Linked DNA regions of Homo sapiens: region 1 is linked to region 2. Evidence: promoter capture Hi-C in human tissues and cell types (Jung and others, 2019). All regions are on one chromosome and are shown on one strand. The core of a region is centred on a gene start or on the middle of the fragment in contact, and the rest is flanking DNA. Distances in the headings are between cores, read along the strand shown. Region 1 has its middle 12 kb from the start of CACUL1. Region 2 holds the start of EMX2 (empty spiracles homeobox 2).

Evidence for each region. Contacts are between HindIII fragments. The study calls those that stand out against the background at their distance.
Region 1: a contact is called between a fragment that was not itself captured here and the fragment with the promoter of EMX2 in region 2, in 1 of the 25 tissues and cell types used here (dorsolateral prefrontal cortex).

What each region holds. Positions count from the first base shown.
Region 1 is chr10:118,764,827-118,769,235 of GRCh38, reverse strand. No RefSeq gene overlaps it. Among named protein-coding and RNA genes, the nearest start is that of CACUL1, 12 kb to the right of the region's middle. The HindIII fragment of the contact is 5,691 bases long and covers 1-4,409 here.
Region 2 is chr10:117,539,859-117,544,567 of GRCh38, reverse strand. EMX2 (empty spiracles homeobox 2) reads right to left here and starts at 1,822. Exons shown (of 3, transcript NM_004098.4): 1 at 895-1,822. The coding sequence starts at 1,300. It also overlaps EMX2OS. RefSeq lists an enhancer at 1-607. The HindIII fragment of the contact is 12,526 bases long and covers 1-4,709 here.

The DNA.
Region 1 (4,409 bases), core at 993-3,492, 1.2 Mb before region 2:
CACTGTTAGTAGTAGCCTTAATATTACTGATATAGTCATGCACCACATAAAGGATGTTTTGGTCCGCGACGGACCATATGCGTGATGGGAGTCCCAAAAGATTATAATGGAGCTGAAAAATTCCTGTCATCTAGTGATGTCTTAATGATCCTGACCCTGTGTAGGCCCAGCTAATGTGTGTTTGTGTCTTAGTTTTTAACAAAAAAGTTTAAAAAGTAAAAAATTAATTTTAAAATAGAAAAAAGTTTTCTTATAGGATATAAGGAAAGAAAATATTTTTGTATAGCTGGACAACGTGTGTTTTAAGCTAAGTGTTATTACAAAAGAGTCAAAAAGTTAAAAAATTAAAAAGCTTAGAAAGTAGAAAAGTTAAAGTAAGCTAAGGTTAACTTATTGGAGAAAGAAATGTTTAAAAATAAATTTAGTGTTAAGTGTACTGTGTTTGTAAAGTCTACAGTAGTGCACAGCAGTGTCCTAGGCCTTCACAGTCACTCACCACTCACTCACTGACTCACCCAGAGCAACTTCCAGCCCTGTAAGCTCCATTCGTGGTAAGTGCCCTATGCAAGTATACCATTTTTATCTTTTATACCATATTTTTTGGCTGTACCTTTTCAATGTTTAGGTATGTTTAGATCCACAACATGTTCCAGTTGCCTACAGTACTCAGTACAGTCACGTGCTGTACAGGTTTGTTGCCTGGGAGCAACAGGCTATGCCATATAACCTAGGTGTGTAGTAGGCTGTGCTGTTGAGGTTTGTATACTCTATGATGTTCCCACAACAACAAAATTGCCTAACAACCCCTTTCTCAGAATGCATTACCATCATTAAGTAACACATGACTGTGTTATTAGGCATGGTGCTCTTTTCCACATGGAAAAGCTGTATAATGCTGTGGCCATCCTCACCCTCAGGCTCCTCAGCACTGGTTTTAAGGGGAGTTCTAGTCTAGAGGAAAGGCAGCCCAGGCCGGATGAAAAAGCCCCTGGTATGGGCCAGGCACCCAGTCGCTTTACAACAGCTATCAGATGCCTTCCCTGACTTAGAATTATACAACCACGTCAATGACCTTCCCATTTTCAAACCTTGAGGATGATGCTTAAACTCTCACCTCGGAGATACTGAATCTCTGATGACTGCACAGGAAGGCCTCTGTTTCCTTACAAAACATGCCTCTCAAAATGTTGGGACAACTGAACGGTTCTCATAAAGCTAAAAATATTATAAAATCCTCAATTACAATTGTCCTTTCCAACAGTCCTTGATAGTACTTTGTTGCCTTTTGAACTTAATTTTGTTCTTTACGTTGCAATTAAACACGTGAATGACTGGCTGAAGTCCCATGAATGATGGATAGAGATTAGAATGCCTGCTTGCCTCCTCCTAATGGTTTCTATCTGTGTCTAAATTGGATTAACTTTATAGCTTTTTTTCTTAATCACTGGTATCAGATCATCCAGTTTTCCATTTTCTACTCATTTTTATGAAGTAATGAGGCAAAACATGCAATTTTTATAAACATATAATATTGACCAGATACGTAAAGGATTGCTGCCAAAACTGACCTGTGGACTAGCAGCAGGCACCCCCGTGCCAAAGCTGATGTTTGGGTTTAGAGTATGAAAGGCAATTTGAGGTATGATGTATGAAAGAGCTGACTGTGTGTGAAACAAGTGAAGTGGAGACTCATTTGTATCTGCTGCCTCTTAAATATGACAAGATAGATACCAACTCCTCCTGGATGATTACTGTGGCCTTCAAAAGGCACCCTGGCCTCTACCCAGGGTTAATCCATTGAGAGTGTTGGTGCCAAGATCGAATAACCAGGTGTCTTGTTGCTCACAGCTGCCAACATCAGATCTGCCTATGGCACCTGGCAGTGATGGCTGACAGTGGAGATCCAGTCCTACATTTCAGTGCCAGGAAGGGCCTCCCTTGCAGGCCACAGCTAAACTGTGTTAGGCCCAGGTACCCTCTTCCTCTAAGACTCCATTGGGATTGGACACCCTGGACCACTCGATGTTGTTTCATCACCCAAAGTACAAGCAATGACTTTTAATACACCTCTGAGTTTTTTTTTTTTTTTTTTTTTTTCCTGAGATGAACTTTCCCTCTTGTTGCCCAGCCTGGAGTGCAATGGCGCAATCTCGGCTCATTGCAACCTCTGCCTCCCGGGTTCAAGCGATTCTCCTGCCTCAGCTTCCCGAGTAGCTGGGATTACAGGCGTGCGCCACCACACCCAGCTAATTTTTGTATGTTTGGTAGAGACAGGGTTTCACCATGTTGGTCAGGCTGGTCTTGAACTCCTGACCTCAGGTGATCCACCTGCCTCGGCCTCGCAAAGTGCTGGAATTACAGGCATGAGCCACTGCGCCCGGCAGCACATTCTTTGATGTATTTTTTGCTTGAAATATTCCCTGCAGGTTCTTGCCTTAACCTGAGCTATTCTCTGAGCACTGCGTCCCTTGTGACCTCTGAAGGGCACACTGTTTTCTCATGTCCCATATTCCTCTGATAGGGAGGTGGTGTTGGTGTCTTCCTTGTTCCCACACTGCTTCCATTTCAATCCTTCCCTTCCCTTTCCGCTGAGGCTCCCACCATTGAAGTTTTCCACCTCACCTGCTCATAGAAGCAATCTCCTGGTCATTATCAACCCCGCCCTCTCTCTCTCTCTTTTTTTTTTTTTCAGATAGAGTCTCACTCCGTCTCCTGGGCTAGAGTGCAGTGGTGCGATCTCAGCCCACTGCAACCTCTGCCTCCAGGATTCAAACAATTCTCCTGCCTCAGCCTCACGAGTAGCTGGGATTACAGGCGCGTGCCATCACACCCAGCTAGTTTTTGTATTTTTTGGTAGGCATGGGGTTTCGCCATGTTGGCCAGGCTGGTCTTGAACTCCTGATCTCAAGTAATCTGCTCACCTTGGCCTCCCAAAGTGCGGGATTACAGGCATGAGCCACCGCGCCCGGCCAACCTCCTCTTTTTTGTTCCTGGATGGCCTTAATCTCCATGCCAGCTCCTGTCATCATTCATTGTCTTGAGGGAAACATTAACATCCCCACGGATGGCCCTTCCAGTCCTCTGGCCTCTTACCTCCCTGGCCTCCTCACCAGGCCTAATTCTAACATTTGCAGCAAGAGTGCAAAATGACTCATTTGTATGTCTAAATATTTAAATGTTATACATACAGCTAACTGCTAAGTAACACACTTCCTATCCTCCTTCCTTGACAAACATACCTTCAGATGATAACAAAATAAAAAATGTATGTAAAGCTATGGTAAAATAACAAGGATGACTGAATGGAACTATTATTGTGTATGTCTGGGTGTTCTTTTGATGGACTGGCAACATGTGGATGAGTAATAAAAAAATACATAATTCATAAATTATATGTATTTTATGAAAGTTAATTTTCTTGCCTTCTTTTAAGTAAATTACCAATTATGTTGTTATAATCAAGACTTTTACATAATTTGTGTTCTATTGAGAGTAATGACAAATTAGGCAACCTTTCTGGGGACATTATGGTTCTTAGGGTGTTTTTCATTAATTTGAAAATGCAGAAACTATGTTCTGCTGAGGTCAGAGCAACTGGAATTATCAATTAAGTTCTTAAAGCCATACTTAGATGGGAAATGAACTATAAATTTAATATATCATGCTCAAACATTTTAATGGGGTTAGGCTGTATATAATCAATCACTGTCACAGAAAATAGTAAAAATATTTTAATTTCATTATATAAATTTCTTTTTTTTTTTTTTTTTTTTGAGACGAAGTCTCGCTCTGTTGCCCAGGCTGGAGTGCAGTGGCGCAATCTCGGCTCACTGCAAGCTCCGCCTCCCAGGTTCACGCCATTCTCCTGCCTCAGCCTCCTGAGTAGCTGGGACTACAGGTGCCTGCCACCACGCCTGGCTAATTTTTTGTATTTTTAGTAGAGATGGGGTTTCACCATGTTAGCCAGGATGGTCTCGATCTCCTGACCTTGTGATCCGCCTGCCTTGGCCTCCCAAAGTGCTGGGATTACAGACGTGAGCCACCGCGCCAGGCCTCGTTATACGAATTTCTACCAGTAATATGAGTTTCACTATCTCTAAGCAACATCAAGATCAATACAGTACTTTTAAGTATTTTCCTTTCAAATTCTTTAATGCTGGGATGTAATAAGAAAATTGACAACAGAAGCATGTTATTCAATTTATTAAAATCTTTTTCCAGATTGTATCCTGATCTAAAATGGCCAAAAATAATCTCCAAAGAAATTAAAGGAAATTTTTGGAAAATCATACATTAATTTTCTTCATGGTCATACAAACATGTTTGTTTCCTTTTAAATTTTCTTTAAAAATTAAAAAAATTAATCATTCAAAAAGTAAAATAGACAAACTTAACTCTAGTTTTCTCTA
Region 2 (4,709 bases), core at 573-3,072:
AGGTAGGTCTTTTACTGACTCCAATCCGTAAACTAATTACTCCTTTTTCTGAAGTTTTAACTCTCCTCCTCCCACCCCGTACCCAGAGAAAAACAAACAAATAAAAAATATCGCAAGAAATGAAAACACACGAACAGATATTTCCCTCTAAGACAGTTTCCTGACCAGGTTCTTTTTTTTTTTTTTTAAAGAAAGAAAGAAAAACAAAAACCAGACCGAACCTGCCTTCCCGCTGTGGCTGCTCGGCGCCCCAATTAAGCAGGTCGCGGCGAGAGCGCCAAGCCCTGGAGCTTTCCTCCCGCACGGGTTCCCGCCCCTCCCCAGGCCTCCGAAAAGCAGGAAAGAAAAAACAAATCCCATACTTTTCTCCCGGGGCGCGAGGATCCTCTCGCCTCCAGAAGAGGGTGGAAGACTAAGAAGCCGCGGGTCTGGACTGAAGGGGCGCAAAGTGGGTGGTGAACAGGGTCGAACGCAGTCGAAAGCAAGCCTGGCGGCCGAGTCCTGTCCGCGCCCCTCGGAGCCAGGACGGTTGGGGGCATTGCCGAGGGTACCAGGAGCCTGGGGATCCCGCGGGCTCTGGGCTCCGCGGCGCCGGGCACGCACAGCCCAGCCTGCTCTGATTCGAGCGCACTGGGGGACAACTTCTCCGTTCGCACCCCTTCCCAAAGGGTCAAGCGGCCCGCAGGCCATCACTCCAAACCAGTCGTAGCTTCGGAGACTGGGGATCGACACCACGCCCGGCCCCGCGCCGCCTAGTTTCCCAACAGGGCGCGCTGGCCCGCGAGCCGGAGGAACCTCCGCCCAGGCCTTGCCAAGCGCCCACCCGGAGCAGGCCGGGGGCAGTGAAGGATGCGGCGGGAGCGGCGCGCTGCAGTTCCGCGACGTGGCACGTACCTTGGAAGCGATGACCCAGATATCGGTAGCGGTGGATGAGCCAGGGGTAGAAGGTGGACGGATCCCGCTGCTGCGAGGCGAATAGGGGGTGTGGCGAGTGCGAGGAGGGTAGGGGGTGGGCGGCCAGGGCGTGCGGCGGCGGCACCGGGTGCACTGGCACGGCGGGGTTGGGCGGGTGCGAGACCGCCTCGGCGAACACCAAGTCCGGGTTGGAGTAGACGCCCCTACCGGCGGCGGCGGCGGCGGCCGAGTGGAAGCCGTTGAGGAACGGATTTATGGGGCTGGAGTTAGCGTAGCTGAGTGCCGCGGGACGGATGGGGTCCTCGGAGCGCGAGGCGGGCAGGGGACTGTCCTTGGCCACCAGCGACTCGATGGTGAAGCAGCGCTTGGGCGCCGGCTGGAACATGCTGCGCCGAGGAGCGGGCGCCCTGGGCTCCCAGCTCCTGGCGACCGCCGCACGCTGCCTCCGCCGCCCGCTGCCCGCGGCGAGGACGGACGAGAATTGGGGACTCGTTTGTTTGGGGTGGGGGTGGGGGTGGGGGGAAGGAAAGGAAGAAAGAAAGGAAAGGAAAGGAAAAAGGAAAGGAGGGGGGAGGGAGAGGGAGAGGCAAAGCCGAGGATCCCGAGAATCTTGCACCAAACGCGCCCAACCTGAAGAGAGGGGGGAAAATCCTTCCAGAAGAATTTGCAGGCGTGGATTGGGGTAATTTTTTTTCTTTTTTTTTCTTTTTTTTTCTTTTTTTTTTTTTTTTTTTTTTTTGGCGAGATGGCGTGGGGGGATCGGAGTTAGAGGCAGGGAGGAGAAGGGGGGAAAGTTCTCGGGGGAGGCAAAAAAAAAAAAAAGTTTTTTCTCCTCTGCAAAAGGCGGGCAGGGCGCCCTAAGTCCAAGGACAATCCATGGAAGTGTTCGCTTCTTCACAAGTTGTGCAAACGATTTGTTAGTTCATGAGCCTAATTAGTGCGGGGATCACATAAACAGCTTCCTCCGAAGCCTGGTAAATGGCTTGATGATTGGTCGCTATTACTCGCCCTGAGGTGGAAGGGGGGAGACTCTTTAAAGTGCGTCAGAGGGAGGTGAGCGCCTGGGAACCCGGAGGCCTGGATCCGGGCCGAGAGTGGAACGGAGTCGGCGCCGCCGCCTCGGCTGAGCCTTCTGCCGCCCACCGGGCGGCCGGGCTTCTCCGCGCCTTCGCCCCTCGCTCCCAGCTCACTCGCTCCTGCGGCGCCCGCTGCGGCTTCTCCTCCTCCTTCGCCTCCTCCTCTTCCTCCAGTTTCTTCTTCTCCTCCTCCTCCTCTTCTTCCTCCTCCTCCTCTTCTTCCTCCTCCTCTTTCCCCACCTACTCCCCCTCAGCCACCGCCTCCTCCTCCACCAGCACCACTCCCTCCGGGGCACCCCGGTCCCTGCAGAGTCCCTGGCCGGCGCCGCCTCCGCTGCGGCCCCCTGAATCCCGAGCCTGCCTCGCCCAAGCTGGTAGGACAGAAGGACAGACAGATTCCTCTAGCCTAGCGCTCCGCCGCTGCTGCCTTACGCGGCCCCGCGTCGGGAGAACTGGGATCGCCCCAAGAGCACCGCGAGGGTAAGCGGGCAGGGGCTGGTTCCCGGGCTAAAGGCGCCGTTCGGTTATACCAATCCCCACACTTAGCAAAACTCCCAGCGGTTTCCTAGGCCAGGAGGGATCCTGGAGTGAGGGGTACGGGGTCCTCCCACCCCATCAACCACGCTTAGCCTCGAGGTCCCAGGGTCGGTGCGTTCGCGATTCTTGACCCGGCTCGTTCGTTTGCGAGTTGAGACCGGGAGCTGCCGACCCCGCCGGAGCAGTGGGCTTCCAACTCTCTCCCTCTCTCGCCCCACGGTCTCTAGCGTTTTCTGTCTGGGAGGGTGCTCACCTCCTTCCCCAAAACAATTCCTTCTGGAATATCTGGGACCGGCAGTCCAAGGTCAGGGGAGAGCCCGATATGGTGCTACTGTACTATTAAGGTTCCGTCGTAATTATTTTTGTCAGTGTGGTCAATGTTATTATTATTATAGATGATATTATTTTATTATTATTATTTCTATTATTATTATTATGCCATCTGTTGTCCCGGGGTTGGTGGGGGGGTGGTGGTTGCTGTGCAAACCCAGTGCAACTAACGACTACGGATCGCATCTCCGGTCCCGGGCCGTGTCCGCATTTTCGAGCTCGCCTTCGGTTTTGGGATGATTTTAGGACCGAGTTCCCTCGTCCCCATTGGCTCGCGCGGCGGCATAATTATGATCACATCCCCAGGCTGCTGGCGCTGCTCTCTGTTTATTGGTGGTTAAAGATCTATTATCTATTCATCAGCCGCCTCTTTTTTCCTTTTTTTCCTTTTGCCAATTACATTCTTCTAAAGTGAAGTACCAGCAGGTATTTTGCACGTTTACAATTAATGATAAAAAAAAATTCTAGCGTCGTTTAAAACTATTACTCCCAGGCCCCTGTCATTTCTCCTAAGAACGCAGAATTGCCTGTGTTTGGTGACTAGGTTGCCGTGAAACCTGGGAAGCCGATGGCAATGGGAGGAGAAGAGTGAAGTCCACCGTGAGCCAGGCTGCACTGCCACCAGATGCATAGTTGAGGGGACAGGTCTCAGGACGAGCTACCTGCTTCCTCCCTTGGTTTCATCTGGTGTATATTTATGTTTGTGTCAATTACTCCTTTATTCCAGATATAATGTTGTGTTGGGGCAAGTGTCCAAAAACCTCTTTTGGGAAACCAGGCAAGAGAGGAGTTGGGAGCAGTGTTTTCCGGGGTTGTCAGGGCACCAGACAGATTCGTGAGGAACTGGCAGAGATCATCTTTGTTGCCCCCACCCCACACCTTCCCAGGGAACACACATACACATCTTCACAGATGAGACAGGTGTGCGCCTCAGCTTTGCCCTCACAGTGGGAGACACCTGCCTTTCCCTTAGGCTTCGAAGTTCTGGGCTGGGGTCCTAGCCCAGTATTGTCCCTCTGTCAGTTCCAGGTGGCTTTGCTTTCTCCTCCTCCCCTTTTTCCAGGCCCAAAGATTCTGGGCTTTGGATCCAGCCCTTGGGGTAGGGGTGCACTTAAAGATGCACCTCCCTTGGGCCTGGACCACTGTCCCCCAAAATATTGTCTACAGTTTGGAAATCCCTCTCTCAATTAGGCTGTGAGGTTACAGGCCTCTCCTCTAACCCCAGCTAGGCCAGCAGGGAGCCTGAAGACATGGCAGAGGGGGGAGGTCTTTTGGCTGTGCCCAGCCAGTAAGCTTAGGGTGGAGCTAGAGGTCCGCCCTCAGGTTTTTGAGGCTGGAAACAAACACTCAGCTTAGGCAGACTGTGCATCCTGAATCCTGGCAAGCAGGAGAGTGCACCTTTCATGCAAACTTCAGAAGGAGGACTGGAGGGCCAGATTCTGGCAGTGCCCTCAGGCCAGACCCTCCAAACTCAGCCTGAGACTCAGAGGTTGCAAACTGGAGCCACTGAAACTCCACCCTTAGTGATCTTGGATGGGGGCATAAAAGTCATTGACCTTTAGGGCAACAGGTATCCAGTCTGTCTGGGAGATTGGGTGAGACCCAGATGGTTTGTGATGTATAAGGGTGATGGGTGCCTTCCCTCTTTTAAAACTTGCAGCCCTGGGCGCTAAGGTGCAATCATTATTCCCTTAACCAGGACAGTGTTGGGCTGGAGATGGGACCCCTCAGCCTTCTGCCCCAGGCAGGGACATCTGGCTGCAGTAGAGGGGTAGAGTGCTCCACAGTCCCACTTCAGTCAGTCGGCATCCTCTGCAGGCTACCTGCCTTTTATAAACTGCCCTTCTGTGG